Linked DNA regions of Homo sapiens: all the other regions are linked to region 2. The links are contacts of gene promoters, found by promoter capture Hi-C in blood cells and fetal thymus (Javierre and others, 2016). All regions are on one chromosome and are shown on one strand. The core of a region is centred on a gene start or on the middle of the fragment in contact, and the rest is flanking DNA. Distances in the headings are between cores, read along the strand shown. Region 1 overlaps ATG3 (autophagy related 3). Region 2 holds the start of CD200 (CD200 molecule). Region 3 overlaps C3orf52 (chromosome 3 open reading frame 52). Region 4 overlaps C3orf52 (chromosome 3 open reading frame 52). Region 5 overlaps SLC35A5 (solute carrier family 35 member A5).

Region 1 (3,308 bases), core at 102-2,601, 220 kb before region 2:
TAAAAAATTAGCGGGGCGTGATGGTGGGCGCCTGTAGTCCAGCCTGGGCGACAGAACGAGACTCCGTCTGAAAAAAAAAAATGGTTTGCATAACTAATCTTTTCTCTAAAATTGTCTTTTGTTTTTGGTGAAGACACATGGTAGTATGGAAATAACCTAGGAGACCTGCCTTCTAGACCTATTTCTGTAATTTCTTTTTTTTTTTTAATTGATCATTCTTGGGTGTTTCTCGCAGAGGGGGATTTGGCAGGGTCACAGGACAATAGTGGAGGGAAGGTCAGCAGATAAGTGAACAAAGGTCTCTGGTTTTCCTAGGCAGAGGACCCTGTGGCCTTCCGCAGTGTTTGTGTCCCTGGGTACTTGAGGTTAGGGAGTGGTGATGACTCTTAACGAGCATGCTGCCTTCAAGCATCTGTTTAACAAAGCACATCTTGCACCACCCTTAATCCATTCAACCCTGAGTGGACACAGCACATGTTTCAGAGAGCACAGGGTTGGGGGTAAGGTCACAGATCAACAGGATCCCAAGGCAGAAGAATTTTTCTTAGTACAGAACAAAATGAAAAGTCTACAATGTCTACCTCTTTCTACACAGACATGGCAACCATCCGATTTCTCAATCTTTTCCCCACCTTTCCCCCCTTTCTATTCCACAAAACCGCCATTGTCATCATGGCCCGTTCTCAATGAGCTGTTGAGTACACCTCCCAGACGGGGTGGTGGCCGGGCAGAGGGGCTCCTCACTTCCCAGTAGGGGCGGCCGGGCAGAGGTGCCCCTCACCTCCCGGACGGGGCGGCTGGCCGGGCGGGGGGCTGACCCCCCCACCTCCCTCCCGGATGGGGCGGCTGGCCGGGCAGAGGGGCTCCTCTCTTCCCAGTAGGGGCGGCCGGGCAGAGGGGCTCCTCACTTCCCAGTAGGGGCGGCCAGGCAGAGGCGCCCCTCACCTCCCGGACGGGACGGTAATTTCTCCTAATGAGGAAATCAGTTAAACTATCCCTGCCGAGGCTTCATGTTTCCTCATCTATAAAATAACGGTTGTGGGCTAGACATTCTGTAAAGATCCTATTCTGCCTTAGGTTTTATTACCTCAAATGCCAAATAAAACTAAGTTTTGATTTTAAGGATATCATTAACATTCTTGCCAAACAGAGGTGTAATTTGAACATGGCTCTTTATCTGAAATCAAGAGCGGAGATGAAAGTATGCTGTTCTTATTGCACTCTTTGGTTTTATTTCCTCTGTGAAGATGACTAATTGTTGAATATATAGTTGCAGTTAGAGATGCAAAGTCTGTGGTCATTGGATAGAATTAAGCAGTTTCAAAACAGGAATTCATCCTAGAATAAATAACTGTTACACTTAATTACAACATCAATCAATTTATGAATTTTCCTCTCTAAAAAAATCCAAGGCCAAATTAGCCCAGCTGGCTGTCTATTACATAATGCAGGGTTGGGATAGAGCACAATTACAGGATTGAGTTAGAGTAGAATGAGCCTGGAGGAGGAAATGGGAAGGCATCATTTGCTTTGTGTAAATATTATATACTGAGTTGATTTGTTCATTTGTTTCATCTTGCTGTTTCTGAGTTTCTGCCAGACATCAGCTATCTTTTTGTTTTCATTCAGAGGTGTGGCAGTATTGTGCTTAAAAAGAGGGGCAGCTAGTATCTGATACTGTATTGTCAAAAAACAAAGAAAAAACTAATGTTGGATGTATGTATGACTTGTTTAAGTAGAATACTATTAATTGAGGTTAGCTTGAGGAATGGAATTGCTCACCAAGGTGTAAATATTGATTCTTGTTGGAGTTGGTCAGTATTATATACTGATAATAAAGATAATAAGAGAACATTTTTAGTCTCTAAGAGAAAGCTATTGCAAGCAATATTGATCATTTAGAAATTTGAATCTTGCATCATTTGAACACGTGAAGCAAGTTATGATGGCCATTGCTAATGAGGGCAGATGTACACATGTATTATCAGTGTGAGTCTGTGTTTTTTTTGTTTTGTTTTTTGTTTTTCGTTTTTCTTGCCTCCTAGTGTTCTTGTTTTTAAATAGAAGATACTATAGGGACTATGAGATAAAATGTTAGTCTTGTTACCTCAAGGCAATACAATGAAAGAATTTTTTATTTTTAATTATTTTGCTTTCATTTAGTTAAATTATTACTTTTAATGGTAATAAATTAGTTCCTGATAACCACAGAGCTAAATGTAGCATCTGGTTGCAATGAGCTCGAAGTGCTCAAAATTTGGGGAAGAGACTATTGTTTTTATTTTGGTTTTTGTCTTTACTTAGGCTGTTTAAATAATAAGGTTATTCGAAGTAAAAGAACAGAAACATAAAGTTTCTATCAGGAATCCAGTTGCTATATCTTGTTAATGTTTCATCTTAAAAGAGGTTATTCTTAGAATTCTTATTTGATAGAATTATATGCTCAAATTAAACTAGAGTATTTTATATAGGCATACTTTCTCAAAGGTATTAGAGATTAAATATTTTGTAATTTTTTGCTGTGTAGTAAACCCATGAACAATACAAGATTTTAAGCTAGAGCTGTTGCAAAATAGAAGTAATTTGGCAAGTATGTGGGTGTCACATGCGTCCATGTGTAGAGACCACCAAACAGGCTTTGTGTGAGCAACAAGGCTGTTTATTTCACCTGGGTGCAGGCGGGCTGAGTCCGAAAAGAGCAAAGGATGGTGAGATTATCATTAGTTCTTATAGATTTTGGGATAGGCAGTGGAGTTAGGAGCAATGTTTTGTGGGCAGGGGGTGGATGGCACAAAATACATTCTCAAGGATGGGGAGAATTACAAAGAACCTTCTTAAGGATGGGGGAGATTACAAAGTACCTTGATCAGTTAGGGTGGGGCAGAAACAAATCACAATGGTGGAGTGTCATCAATTAAGGCTATTTTCACTTCTTTTGTGGATCTTCAGTTGCTTCAGCACATCTAGATGTATACGTGCAGGTCACAGGGTATATGATGGCTTAGCTTGGGCTCAGAGGCCTGACAATGCACATCCTGCTTGAGTTGGGACACTGCAGTTATGCTTAACAGACTTAAATTTTCTGCCCTCAGAAATAAGCAGGATTTCTGTTCGCCAGTAAGATCAGCTCATGTTCGTGTAAACTGATAATTCTCAAATGGTTAAAGTTTATCTCCCTGAATCTGGTTTTTATTTCTGAAGAAAAACAAAAACTTGTACAATATTCAGCCCGCTTAGGAAGTCTAAGGTTTTTTAGAGAGAATTCAATTTGTTAATTTTGTAGGTGTTTTCAGAGTGAGACCAAAAAG
Region 2 (3,311 bases), core at 720-3,219:
TCAGGCCAAATATTTCCTCAGGCTCCATTGCCAGTGCCCACCCAACACATTTTGTTTTATTTTCAGCTAAGGCAATTGTGGAGACAGATACTGGCATTCCAATTCTATGTGATATTTTTTAAACCATTAGGCTTCTCTGACGTGGAAATCCAGGCTCTACCAGAGGCCATGATGAAGAATGCAGAATGGACAAGCTCTCATAGAGAAAATCTGTGTTTTAGGACAAGAGAGAAAGCAGATACATACCAAACCATATATTGTGGACTGGGAGCCAGCAATGTTAAGAAACAAAACACAGTGATTGAGGCAAAGGAAATCAGAAGGAAAGCCTTACTCTTAAATAGATACGTATTTTTATTTTACAGGTTTTTTTTTTCCTCGAGTCTGTGCAGAATAACTGAAAATACGACCAATCTGAAAACAACAGTATTTATATGTTTACAGGGAGGTGACCGGGGCTAAAACAAATACTAGATTTGTGAGCAAAAGAAATCATTTTACCTCTCTGAGACTCCGGAAAAGTAATAGTACCAATCTAATGGTTAAAAAGACTAAATGAAGTAGTATATAAAGCTCCTAGAATACTGCCAGTAGAAATAAGCACTAAATAAATGTTGCTCTTATCTCACATAGTTATTATGAGAATTAGGCAATTAAAGCACTTAGTATAGAGCCTAGGTTATAGTAAATGCCAATACGTGTTAGGTAGCTAAAAAAATTAATCGATCAAATCATATAGGGGGAACTACAGTCCTGAAAACAAAGAAGCCCACTTATAACCCTTGCCATGCAGTCCAGGGTTCACAAAAACCTGGGTCTTACCAGACAGCTGCCCACCTGGTAGCTATATTGCCCCTATTCATGCCTCTTCCTCAGCAAGTTTCTATGTCCAAATCCACATTACCCCACATGTAGTCACAAGGACTTGGAAATATCAGCCTTTCCGCCTGTTTATGTGTAAAACGAGGTAATAATTCATTTTTAGAAGGATAGTTACAAAGAAGATTAACAGCATCTAGCTTGCAGTAGACCGTAGCTCACAGACCACCATTCTCCTTTGTTAAGAAAGACAGTGAAATCATTGGCTATGTGGTCTTGCCAACAAACCATACATGAAAAAATTATCTTGAGGCATTCACTGTATTTGGATTCTTATACCAATACCATTGTATTTGGATTTCATATACCAATGGGATATATGAAAACCTTCTCCGTTTTTTGTCTTGTAAGCTGGTTCCGAATAAACAAAATGTCTGTTTCTCTAGATACCCGGGGTTAACCCTTCAAAGCATTATGATCACAGAGCATTTCAGCTCTCTCAAGTGTAGCTTCAGCTTTAACTGATCCTTCATGGCTTCCCCCAGGCAAGGGCTAGGAGGGAGAAAGGGGCTGCATAACAAAGAGGAGACGCAGGAGCTCTCCCGGAGAAAGCGAGCCTGGAAATCTGTATCTCCGCCGCAGCTTTTGGTGCCAATATGGAACCAATACAGCATTTCTCTTTCCCTTTTGGGGGCAGTTTAAAATAGGCTGTGCCTCCCCAGTTTTGGGAGCTGGAGCCAGTGAGCCGAGCCGAGCCTGCCCGGAGGATGCGCCAGCTTCGTCAGCGCGGATCAAGAGCCCCCGGAGCCCCGGCCTGGTGCATCTTTTTTTCAGGCAATTGGAATGGAGAATCTGGACGCCAGCAGCTGCCTGTAAACCACCCTTTGGAAGGCAAAATCCGTTTCTCAGCAAGAGAAAGCGCTTAGAGAAAAGCGCTGCCATCAACACCGCTGATCTAGTCCCCGGACCAGATTGTGGCAAGAGCCGAAGCTCCGCGCCTTCCACTCGCCGCCCGCCCCAGGGCCACCGGCTCAACATCGCCTGCCCTGCGCCCTCCTTCCCAAGCCCCGGCCCCGCTCACCAGCCTCTCCATCCTTGCTCCTGGAGGCGCGCGCGAGGTGGCTGACTGCGGATGTGCGCCTGGAGCTCTGCTAGGCAGGCGGGAGGAGCGTCACCTGTGCCCCTGCCGCACCTCCCGCCTCTTCCTCCTCGCTAGCCCCCTTCTCCCACTCCGTTTTCCCCACGCCCTCACAGGAGCGGAGGCTGTCTGTGTGGGGGGAATTAAATGATGTTTATATTCAGCTTTGTCTATTTTCAGACATTTTTCCCTTTTCAAAGGTGACCGCTGGGGAAACTGACAAAGTGTTTGGAAAAAAAAAATCATTTTTTTTTTTCCATTTTCCTGCTACCTGGACTGAGAAAGGAAATGAGGTGGGAGGTTGTGGAGATCAGTTGTTGACCTGTTAGCTCTTGATGTAGTGGCAAAGGATTCAAGCTGAATTTAACCAATGGACTTTTTTTTTTTTTTAAAGAAAAAACTTACATTTATTATTTTTAAATCCAGATTCAAATTATATATTTAAGCAATTCCGTAATGATTTCACCTTTCATGATGTGATCAATTCTTTGGTGAAGAGTTTCCTTCCACTTGCATTAATGATGAGGATTCTTTTTTCCCTTCTCCTTCTCCTTCTTCTCCTTCTTCTTCTTCTTGAGACGGAGTCTCGCTCTGTGGTCCAGGCTGGAGTGCAGTGGCGCTATCTTGGCTCACTACAAGCTCCGCCTCCCGGGTTCCCGCCATTCTCCTGCCTCAGCCTCCCGAGTAGCTGGGACTACAGACGCCCGCCACCATGCCCGGCTAATTTTTTGTATTTTTAGTAGAGACGGGGTTTCACCATGTTAGCCAGGATGGTCTCGGTCTCTTGACCTCGTGATCCGCCCGCCTCGGCCTCCCAAAATGCTGGGATTACAGGCGTGAGCCACTGCGCCCGGCCCTCCTCCTCCTCTTCCTCCTTCTCCGTCTCCTTCTCCTTCTCCTTCTCCTCCTTCTCCTTCTCCTCCTCCCCCTCCCCCTCCTCCTCCTCCTTCGTCTTCTTCTTCTTGTTCCAGAGTTCTTGGCTCTTAAAAAAAAAAAAAAAAGGACAAAGAAATCATCAAGTGTTCACCTCCTGAAGGCTTTTGTGTTTTACTACTACCACCCTCTCATAAGGAGCTGGGACAAAGCTTTGGGGTTTTGTTTTTGCTTCTTTTTACAGACAAAGTCTCGCTCTGTTGTCCAAGCTGGAATGCAGTGGTGCGATCATAACTCACTCCTGGGCTCAAGGGATCCTCTCACCTCAGCCTCTAGAGTAGCTAGAATGATAGTTGTGCAGCCACTATGTCCAGCTTTTTTTTTTTTTCCAGACACGGGGTCTTGTGTTGCCCAGGCTGGCCTGAAATTCCTAGCCTCAAATGCTCCTTCTACCTTTGCCTCCCAAAGCAGTGGGATTACA
Region 3 (3,344 bases), core at 304-2,803, 220 kb after region 2:
ATGTAAAAGGATAATAAATGGACTCTACACACATACACCCTGATGCCTACATCTCAAGAACATTAAAGATGAGGAGGAAATTTAAAAAATAAAAAATACATATGGGTGTGTATATCCTATGTGTGTGTAGTATTTGTGGTGCCTATGGTAGATACATGAACAGAAGTAATTACACTCAACTCTTGACAGCTATTACCTCCATGGAAGGGAATGGCATTAGTTATTGGTGGTGGCAGTGGAGAAGAAAGGAGGCAGAAGGGAGACTTTTCCTGTGCATACCTCTTTATGTCTTCTTTTTTTTATTTTTATTTATTTTTATTTTTTTGACAGAGTCTCACTCTGTCACTCAGGCTGGAGTGCAGTGGCGCAATCTCGGCTCACTGCAACCTCCCCTCCCGAATTCAAGAGATTCTCCTGCCTCAGCCTCCTGAGTAGCTGGGATTAGAGGCACCCACCAACACACCTGGCTAATTTTTGTATTTTTAGTTGAGACAGGGTTTCACCACGTTGGCCAGGCTAGTCTTGAACTCCTGACCTCAAGTGATCTGCCCGCCTTGGCCTCGCAAAGTGCTGGGATTACAGGCGTGAGCTACCACGCCCGGCCCCTCTTTACATCTTTAATACTAAACAAGGAGAATGTACTCCTGTATTACTTGTGCTCCTCAAAAGCAAATGCCTATACATGTATCACTCGCATCACAGCACGACCTGAGATCTATTTCTACTTCTACCCTTAGCTTATTTGAGCATTCATTGTTAAACAGAAATGGTTTACCTGGGACTGGCTTTTCCCCTCTTCTGTGTGACCCTGGTTGAATTATACCATTAATCTGGGCTTCCTTTTTCTCATTTGTAAAATAAGGGAGTTGAGCCTGTTGGTGTAAAAGACCTTCCCAGCACTGACATTCTGTGATTCTATTACAGGTTCCCTTCATGCTCTGAGGCTCTGGGAATCCCTGCTAGGTAAATGACGAAGGGTGGGGTGGGGGGATCTCTTTCCAGAGAAAGAGAGCAAAATGTAATGTTCCACACTCTTACCTGAAGTCCACTATTTCAACTGAAGTAAAATAACGACCCAGAGAGGGCGATGTACTGTACACATCTGTGAGCTAAACAAACAGAAGCAAATTAAACCACACACATTACCGACAGATCATATTACACATCACCTGACAAAGCAAAACTGCTTCTAAGGCAGAGGAGATTCCACTCCAGCCTGGAATCAACGTTATCTGGAAGCTCTGGATCAAGAATTGAGCCCACCATAAATCAAAACTCAAGTTAATGCTACTTCAAAAGAACTCCATTTATAAGGACCAAATGACTCAGTTTCTCTCAGAAGTTGCACTGGCACCCTGTGGCCTTAGTGGTGAGAATATCAGCAGCTGGAGCCCACACAGGCCTCACAGACCATAGGAAGGAGAGAAGAGAAGACCCCAAAATGGCTGCTGGACAGCAGCAGCACAGACCACTTAGCACCTGGGACATTGCTTAGCCCAGGGCTTCTTTCTCCCTTCTCCAGAGCTTCAGTGTAAAGACAAACAGCCATGCTAAGCCATGGGTCTAGCACATCCCCTGGACAAAGAGACAAAGAGGGGAACTGCAAAAATATGGAGGCTTTATTTTATGCATGAAATATTGCAAGCATCATAAAAAATAATGACACCTGTGTTTCCACTACCTAGCTTTCATGTCTTCATATTTGCTATATTGGGTTCAGCCCTTTAATTTAAGAAACAAAATAAAGCTAAAGTGACTCCTACATACTATTCAGTTCCTCCTCTCTCTCTTTCTTAATACTAACCATCATTCTGAAGCTGGCATGCATCCTTTCCTTGCATATTTTTACAAATTACTACTTATTTATGTAATCATAACAAAATATAATTTGTGTTTTTATTCAAATAAAAGGCACCATATTCTACATAATCTTCTAAAACTTGCCTTTTTTCACTCAAAATTACATTTAAGATTTACCCATAAAGTAAATCTCAATGAAAGGCATTCACCTAACTCCTGCACAGATTCCTTTAAATGAGTATACCAGCCTATCCATTCCTCTGATGATGATCACATGCACTATTCTCAATTTTCCCCATCACAACTTATGCTGAAGCAATCATCCTTAATGTCTCCATGCATCTCTTCTTGGACATGCGGGAGTTTCCAATGGGCATATGCCAAGAAAAGGAATTGTTGGGTTTAAGGGTAGGTGCATCTCCAACTTCACAAAATTGTTCTCCCTTTCCCACCCCTCCCAGCAATGTATAAATATCCATTTCCCACATCCTTACCAGCACTTAGTGTTACCAAACTTAAATTTTTACCACTCCGAGGAGTATAAAATAGTGCTTCACATTGTTTTAATTTGTACTGCCTCGCTTACTAGTGAGGTTGAACATCTTTTCATGTTTATTAACTCTTTGGGACTTTTCATCTCTGAATTTCTCACTCATTTCCTTTCCTTCTCTTGGCTTATCTGTCTTTTTCTTATCTATCTGAAGTGGTTAGTTTTATATTCTGGATACTAGTTGTTGATATTATGTTACAAGTATCTTTTCCCAGGCATTGAGTAGTTGTGTTTCAGATATCTGAATCCTAAACTAGTAGTACTAGGAACATGTGCCATCCCCAGCTACAGCCATTATGGCTTAATGACCTATTACTTTATTCAATAACAAGCAGTCGAACATACAAAAAACAGCAGTGCCCTATGGGGAGCTTACCCTGTTTCCCCTCAACTCCAAATGGAATGTCAAGGACGCTGCACTTCCACAATACACTCCCATTTAACTCAACATGTACAACCCATATCTCAAAGAGAACAAAAGATGAGAGTGCCTGCTATTTCTGCTCTTCTAATCTTGTCACTACTGTTGTGATCTTTATAAAAACCTGGCAAAACAGGCATTAATATATCTCCCCTTTTTACTGGAAAATTAAACAGCACTCCATTCCATGAGATGAAGAAAACCTGTCCCAGGTCACTGTGCTAGTAAAAGGAGAAGCCAAAATTCAATCCTACATGTTATGAACACTAAAAACCAGCTTCTTCCCATCTGACCACACTACCCAGTGAAGAAGAAATTGATATATATACAGTGAAGGAAAGTGTCTCCTGAATATCAAGGAGGAAAGAAGCTTAAAGTGACAAAAACTTTCGGAGAAAATGACTGAGTCATTGTACAGCTCTTAAGCCCCAATGCACAGGATGTTGCCGATAGGCTGACAGTCATTTAGAAAACTCGGGAACTAGGAAAGCAGCTTTCACGGGGATGCTGTGATGGAGAGGAGGATGAGGATGCTGCAGAGGAGAATCTTTTCAAGCACTAATGTCAAGCACT
Region 4 (3,387 bases), core at 830-3,329, 240 kb after region 2:
TAACTGAACATATATCATTTTTCAATCAAAATAAGCAACAACATGAAATAATATATGGAATAGATGTAGTCATATATAGTTAGCATTCTATACATTTTTTGTTTTATACACACATACAACACTAATAAAATAAACAGTCATTTCTAAAACAAGTTAAAATTGGGCCAAGCATGGTGGCTCATGCCTCTAATCCCAGCAATTTGGGAGGCCAAGGCAGGCAGATCACTTGAGGTCAGGAGTTCAAGACCAACCCGGACAACATGGCAAAACCCCGTCTCTACTAAAAATACAAAAATTAGCTGGGCGTGGTGGCACATGCCTATAATTCCAGCTATTTCGGAGGCTGAGGCATGAGAATTCCTTGAACTTGGGAGGCAGAGGTTGCAGCGAGCCAAAGTCGTGCCACTGCACTCTAGCCTGGGTGACAGAGTAAGACTTTCTCTCAAAAAAAAAAATAAATAAATACAATAAGTTAAAATAATGACAGCTTATGGACACATGGTTCTTCAAAGTTTTTTAAAACTCTTTCAAATACATTATTTATTATTTTATCATCATAGTAATATATCAGACACACCAGATGAAGTATAATTATTTTTAGCAAACAAATGAAAAGAAAAAGAATTCAAATCAACAGGTATCAGGATATAAATAAAATATAAATCAGTGTTTAAGTAAGTTGAAACATTAAGAAACCTCTTCAAGATCCAATGAGCAGAGTTTAAAGTAAAACACTGGTTTCTATATTTCTTCTGGAGCTTATAAAACAACAAAATACAACAACAACAGAAAACAAAAACACAAGAATCAGGCATATCTCCCACCCATACAATATATTCCAAGCCGGTCTTAAATTCACATTATAAATAATGAAATGGCTATGAGTACATCTTCCATTTCAGTGTAAGTCACAAGCCTTAAGTAAGTTCTTAAAATGTGTTATTTATTCACATCTAAATCCTCTTACCTGCAGCAAGACATAAGCCTATGATGATCACTGTAATGACACCTAGGAAAATGGAGGTGATGATCATCCACAGTTTGCATCTTCCAACCACATTCTTATTACAGGAGCTCCAGGGGCTTTCCTTGTTAGCCTAGAAAGGCAGAGGGAGATTGTGAGGCAGTCATTGTGTTGCAACAGACAGTTCTGAATACCTAGGATGTGCCAGAGACACAGAAATGAAGGCAGCAAGACCCTGACCTTAGGGCAACACTCTACTGAATCAAGTTTTCAAAAAGAGAGATCAGAGGCAGAACAGAACCTCATCAAGAAGTTAGCAAGAAAATCCTCTGGGGGCTCTGAAGTGGGGAGGATAGGCAGGATTTTGAAAGATGGATTTTTGAAGGCATTCCAAACCCAGGAAAGAGCATCCAAAGTGTGGATTCGTAATGGAACCGGCCAGCAGACTAGCCTGCCGACTGGAATGTGGGTTTCAGAGGCAAATAATGAAAGTTAAGATTAGAGAGAGTGAAAGGCTGGGAGCACACTCAGAGGGTGTTGATAGCTGTCCCAGAATAGATTGGACTTAATTGGGTGTGCACTGGAAACTTGAAGGTTTTGAAACACCAGAGCCGAGTTGAAAATTAAGGGAAAATCATGTGTGGTTTAGAGTGGAAACACCAAGAAAAAGCTACAAGGCTACTGCTGTGGCCTAGGTTCTATGTAAAAAAGGGTTGGGAAGGGAAATGAAAGGACAGCTGCAAGAGACAACAGGAAATAAGCTGCAAAGCTGGAGTGAGAAGGCTGGAGTGAGGCAGAGGAGGGGTCAATGAAAACAAGTACAACTGCTATGGTTTATTGAGCACCAGCGTCATTTCACTTAACCCTAACAGCCCTTCAGGGTGTGCACTAGTCCATTTCAAAGACGCAATTCAGAGAGATGAGCCAGAACCAATCCCTGCTGTGTGTCTCCACAAAGCTCTCCAACTTTCCCTTTTGTCCACATCACTGTGCAGAGCTCCGGTTTATGAGGGTGTCACAGAGGGGCCCCCACCTTACCCTATATGGTCCCATGACTCTTCTCCTACTTCCCACTCCACCATTAGATAATTCTTTCATGGAGACCATGGGAAACAACAGAATACAATGGGGAAAAAATGTGTCTGTATCTAACACACTTGGATTCCAAACCAAGATATACCACTTAAAGGCAAGGTGGCTTTAAGCAAGCTACTGAAACTCATAGGCCCCAAAGTCCTCAGCTTTAAAATATATAAATAGTAAATTAGCTCACAGGACTGTTGCAAAAACTAGAGATAATGGACACAAAGCATCTGCTAAACAATTATTGGGAGTTCGGCCAAAGGGTGCAACTGCGCCTCAGTCATTCCTCAGCGTTCACCATCCCACAAAGCAGCAGCCGGCACTCGAGGAGACTCGCTCCTGACCGACACCTGGCCACCTGGCCTGCTTTCTCTCCCATTCTTTTTTTTTTTTTTCTTTTTTTCTTGAGATGGAGTCTCGCTCTGTCGCCCAGGCTGGAGTGCAGCAGCACGATCTCCGCTCACTGCAAGCTCCGCCTCCCGGGTTCACGCCATTCTCCTGCCTCAGCCTCCCGAGTAGCTGGGACTACAGGCGCCCGCCACCACGCCCGGCTAATTTTTTGTATATTTAGTAGAGACGGGGTTTCACTGTGTTAGCCAGGATGGTCTCGATCTCCTGACCTCGTGATCCTCCCGCCTCAACCTCCCAAAGTGCTGGGATTACAGGCATGAGCCACCGCGACTGGCCTTCTCTGCCATTCTTATTTTGGTGCTGGCCATCAGAAAACGAATCGGTCAGTCCACACTTGGACTGTATTTCCAACCTTCTCAATTAGAGGTGCCCAAGCCTGGCTGCACATCAGAATCACTGGGTAAGGATTTTAACTGACACATACCTAGGCCCCACCTGCACCTAGTGGACCAGATTGTAAGGGAGGTGGGAGGAGGCCATGGCAGACCTCTGGTCTGAGGCCTCCCACCTTTCGGGAGTTAGGTCAAATCTCCCCTTTGGTGGAAGCCTCCCTCCCCACCTGCCCTTAGTGAGATCTTCCAATACCTGAGCTGTCCACATAGCCCATCTGCTGTTGCCACTGACTGCCCTGTCCGGTTTCAGGTTCAAAAACAAACAGAGCCTGGCCTTATCTTCCTGCGTAAACTGAAACCACATAGAGGAGGGGTGCTCTTAAACTGCCCTGTTCTTATATTCCACACCTGTGCCTTCTACAAGTAATATACATTTAACGATTGTGGGCTGTTTAGTTGTAGAGGCCTCCCAGAAATTTTAAGAATGGACTTTGAGAAAATCTAGATGAGGGGACAAATGTTGGATTTCCCAAGTGCACTTTACACTGACTCTGAGGCCTAGCCTGTCAGAGGTGCGAGGGGAGCACTTAAAGGCCC
Region 5 (3,523 bases), core at 500-2,999, 250 kb before region 2:
GTCAAGGCCACAATAGACAAAAATAAAGTCAGGAGGGAAGCCCACTGGATCCAGTTTAGACGCCTCCTGTTCAAAGATGAAAAAAAAGATTTTACTACTGTTTTCCCCCCATATCAATAGTTTCTACTGAAAACTCAGACACTTGAGTATTTGGTTGAATAAACTGGACCCAGTTTTTGCTAGCATTTCCTACCACTCAAGTTCAGAGAAAAACTGTTGGTGCCTGTCTCTCAAATTTAATGTTTTAATTCATTTTTATAACACCTATCCCCTAAGGCTGCTCAAGTCATTTCCCTTCTGTGTAGGTTTCCTTTTAACCTACAAGTTTAACATGGCCTCCTTTCTACCTCTAGAGGTATCCTGGACCTCTGGCACAGTAACTTTTATTGTACTATAAAGTTACAGCAGAGATTCTCAACCTGGTTTCCCAGAACCAGAAAGAATGTAGATGAGCTTCAGAAATGTTGTGTACAGATGAATTTCCCCCTATGCAGGAGATCCTGCAAAGCTTTGTCAAATCTTTAAAGGTGTCCATAACCCAAAAAAGATTTAAAGGAGAAGGTTAGCTCTAGATCCATGTCCTAATCGTAGAGCATTAAACAGCAAACTGCTGGCTGACAAGCCAAAGAAAAATGTTATTTTGGGCAGTATTTCAGTTTACAAAGTCCTAACAATCCTTTGTTTATTTTCCTTAGCAACAAACTTGTGAGAAATAAAGGACATGTACTATTATTATTCCATTTTGCTGATTCATTCTATTCAACAGATGTTTAATAAGCAGCTACTACGTGCCAGGCAACCTGGGGCGATAAAGATGACTTATCTCCATGTTCAAGGAATTTATGCTTTAACAGTGAGAAAACAATGAAACTAAATGATTTCAGTATGTGTGAAAAGTGATTAATGGGACAAGTGGAGTAAACTGAGGAACACTACAATCTGTAAATAGTCAGGTATTGCTTCAAAGAGGAAATGACACTTGAGCTAGAAGATGAAAAATTAATTGAAGTTTATCATGTGAAAAAGGAGGTGGTGATATATCCAGGCAGAGGGAAGAGTCTCTATGCAAAGGCAACAAGAATGTACAATGTTGACAAAGAGGAATATCTCACTTTCATTGGCGTTGTCAGGAGGCCTCTTGGGGGAACAAAATCTTGATGTTTGAAGATCAGTTAGTTAGGCAAAGAAGGGGAACACCGAGAAAAAAAGAGGAACATAAAAAATGCAGAAGTGTAAAGCAATAGGTGGGAACCAGAAGTGAGAATTTTTATATCATTGGAGCATTTATTGAGCACCTACCATACACTTAGGCATTTCCGCTCTAAGGGAGGAAACAGTTAACCTAACAGATTTCCCTAAGGTCATGTACTTAAACACTAAAGAAGGGATCGGATCCATGGTTTTGTATGTCTTCCTTCTGCATCATCACACCTCCTAAGTATAATTCTAAGTTTCCAGGATGCACATATAGGAAGTTGTGTGCATATAAAGCTTCATGCTCTGAAACTGCTAAATGCACAGACTAGCCTAGATAGCAGCATACCTGTGCACACTATTATATGCTTTCTCATATGTATGTAATTTTCAAATAGCCTGATCTAGAACTTACTGATGGCGTTAGCGCAGCCTTATGCCATCAGGTGAGAAACTGTGAACTAACCACTTAAATTTCTGAAGGTGCAGCTGATACACATTAAGTAGCAGAAAACAAATAGAATGACCACAGAGATAAAAAATGGGTGTCCATTTTACAAAAAAAATTCCATAATTAATTATTGCAAATCGCATATAAGTGAGGCAATGATATAATCTATAGTTCCTTTAAAAGTTTTCTAGAGCTATACATTTTTCACTAATATTAAGAAAAAAGAAAGAAATCCTTAAGCTAAACAACACCTTCTGTAAACAATTACTCATTCAAGGTAATGCTCTAAGGAACGTAAAATTTATTAAGGATTAAGCTAAAAATTAAAAATGGTAGATTTTTAGGAAAGAAAATAAAGCTTAATAAATTACCCTGTAAAGTCAGCTGACAATCTGAAATGACAACTGAGTCTGCTAGGCCCAATTTGTTCTTCAGTTTAACTGATACAAAACAGTGGAAGCTCACTTCACTCATCTCTCCACTGCCTCGGTAAAACATAGTAATGGATGCTCAGAGCCGAATGCCTGTGGCTAGAAGGCTACTCTTCCTGAGGGCCTCTCCTCCCAAGTGAATTGTTTGCCCACAGAATCTCTGTTCCTAAACATGTTTTTGCCAGGTGACCTCACTGTTGTCACTACATAAAGATTACATAAATGATAAACTATGAGTAAAAGACAAGAAGCTGTTTTTATGAAAACTAAGTTGAACACTTTGGGAAGACTAAGTGAAGGTAAATCATTCAGAAGATAAAAAGCTGTTTTCTAATAACATATAGGTGAGCTAAGGAACTTCAATCAGTAACATACTCAAAGGGGGGGCTTTAGTTCAACATTAGAAGAATGATGAATACATGTATATTTACATATTCTAAGTTAAAATAAATTGTTTAGATATTTTCTATATATACTTATGTATATGATTCATCACTATAAGTTTTCCTAGCAACTAACCAATAGGTTCAAATTGTGTCAGATAAGAGCACTTCTATATTTGGTGGTAGTAAACTAGTGCAGGGTATGAAGACAATTAAATGGAAAGACTCACATAATTGTTTTCTCAAGAAACTGTACAAAACACATTTCTTAGTAGCACAAAGAGAGTGACAAGGGGCAGATTTATAATGAGAAGTCACAGAGAAAATTTATCAACTGAATGAATGATTCTGGAGAAATGCTTGTACTACTACTGAGTGGCACTTCTCTTTGTTCTTCTGCTGTTTCAGACAGTAACTAAACTTTACCCTTACTTCCTAGACATCCACCATGTTTCAAAATGTATTTTTAAATAATTTTTTTCCATACCTTCTCTTTGAGGAAATCAGAGAAACTTATATACATTTTTTAGGTAAAAATAAGTGCTGGTCTTGGTTATCCTTTGCCTCCAATCTCAATGTTTAGGTTGGTATTATTTCCCAAAGCTAAAGCAAACAAAATTGTGCAACTTTGCTTAGGTTACAAGCAAACCAGGGAAGCAAGCTACAAGGCATAATGCCTGCTACCAGTTTCTACCATGAACCAGTGGCTTATACTTCAAAGAACAAATCTATACATTCACATAAAGTTTGAATCCTTGGAAAATAACATGCTAATAATCTAATATTGTGGCTTATACTTCAAAGAACAAATCTATACATTCACATAAAGTTTGAATCCTTGGAAAATAACATGCTAATAATCTAATATTGTCTTTTATGAGAATGCCTTTAGGTATTTTATTCTTTTTAGAAAAGACAATAGGACATTTAGATGATAATATTTTTTTTCCCACTTTCAAATTCCTCCAAGTAATCCCTGCAGTAGTTACCAGACTTACTTTTGCCTGCTTTTGTAGCCTCATATTCTTTTTAAGAATTTTTAAAAATTATTTTTTTTTTTCTTA

What was found. Contacts are between HindIII fragments. The CHiCAGO score rates a contact against its expected background, and 5 or more counts as called.
Region 1: a fragment that was not itself captured here is called in contact with the fragment with the promoter of CD200 in region 2 in 7 of 17 cell types (naive B cells, total B cells, activated CD4 T cells and 4 more); the score reaches 8.0 in naive B cells.
Region 3: a contact is called between a fragment that was not itself captured here and the fragment with the promoter of CD200 in region 2, in 16 of 17 cell types (total B cells, naive B cells, naive CD4 T cells and 13 more). The highest score is 22.4, in total B cells.
Region 4: a contact is called between a fragment that was not itself captured here and the fragment with the promoter of CD200 in region 2, in 3 of 17 cell types (naive B cells, M2 macrophages and naive CD8 T cells). The highest score is 6.0, in naive B cells.
Region 5: a contact is called between a fragment that was not itself captured here and the fragment with the promoter of CD200 in region 2, in 2 of 17 cell types (naive B cells and total B cells). The highest score is 6.8, in naive B cells.

What each region holds. Positions count from the first base shown.
Region 1 is chr3:112,553,918-112,557,225 of GRCh38, reverse strand. The region is part of intron 2 of ATG3 (autophagy related 3); the gene reads left to right. Among named protein-coding and RNA genes, the nearest start is that of ATG3, 6.4 kb to the left of the region's middle. The HindIII fragment of the contact is 3,918 bases long and covers 1-3,308 here.
Region 2 is chr3:112,331,814-112,335,124 of GRCh38, reverse strand. CD200 (CD200 molecule) reads right to left here and starts at 1,969. Exons shown (of 6, transcript NM_005944.7): 1 at 1,901-1,969. The coding sequence starts at 1,912. LOC105374042 (a long non-coding RNA gene) reads right to left here. Exons shown (of 5, transcript NR_147411.1): 5 at 2,371-2,939. RefSeq lists enhancers at 388-1,344, 1,345-2,302. The HindIII fragment of the contact is 4,002 bases long and covers 1-3,044 here.
Region 3 is chr3:112,107,308-112,110,651 of GRCh38, reverse strand. C3orf52 (chromosome 3 open reading frame 52) reads right to left here. Exons shown (of 6, transcript NM_024616.3): 4 at 1,039-1,109. Among named protein-coding and RNA genes, the nearest start is that of MIR567, 3.8 kb to the left of the region's middle. The HindIII fragment of the contact is 3,181 bases long and covers 1-3,143 here.
Region 4 is chr3:112,091,070-112,094,456 of GRCh38, reverse strand. It overlaps C3orf52 (chromosome 3 open reading frame 52), which reads right to left. Exons shown (of 6, transcript NM_024616.3): 2 at 968-1,097. Among named protein-coding and RNA genes, the nearest start is that of C3orf52, 6.4 kb to the right of the region's middle. The HindIII fragment of the contact is 7,540 bases long and covers 1-3,387 here.
Region 5 is chr3:112,577,089-112,580,611 of GRCh38, reverse strand. It overlaps SLC35A5 (solute carrier family 35 member A5), which reads right to left. Exons shown (of 7, transcript NM_017945.5): 6 at 1-66. Among named protein-coding and RNA genes, the nearest start is that of SLC35A5, 17 kb to the right of the region's middle. The HindIII fragment of the contact is 512 bases long and covers 1,494-2,005 here.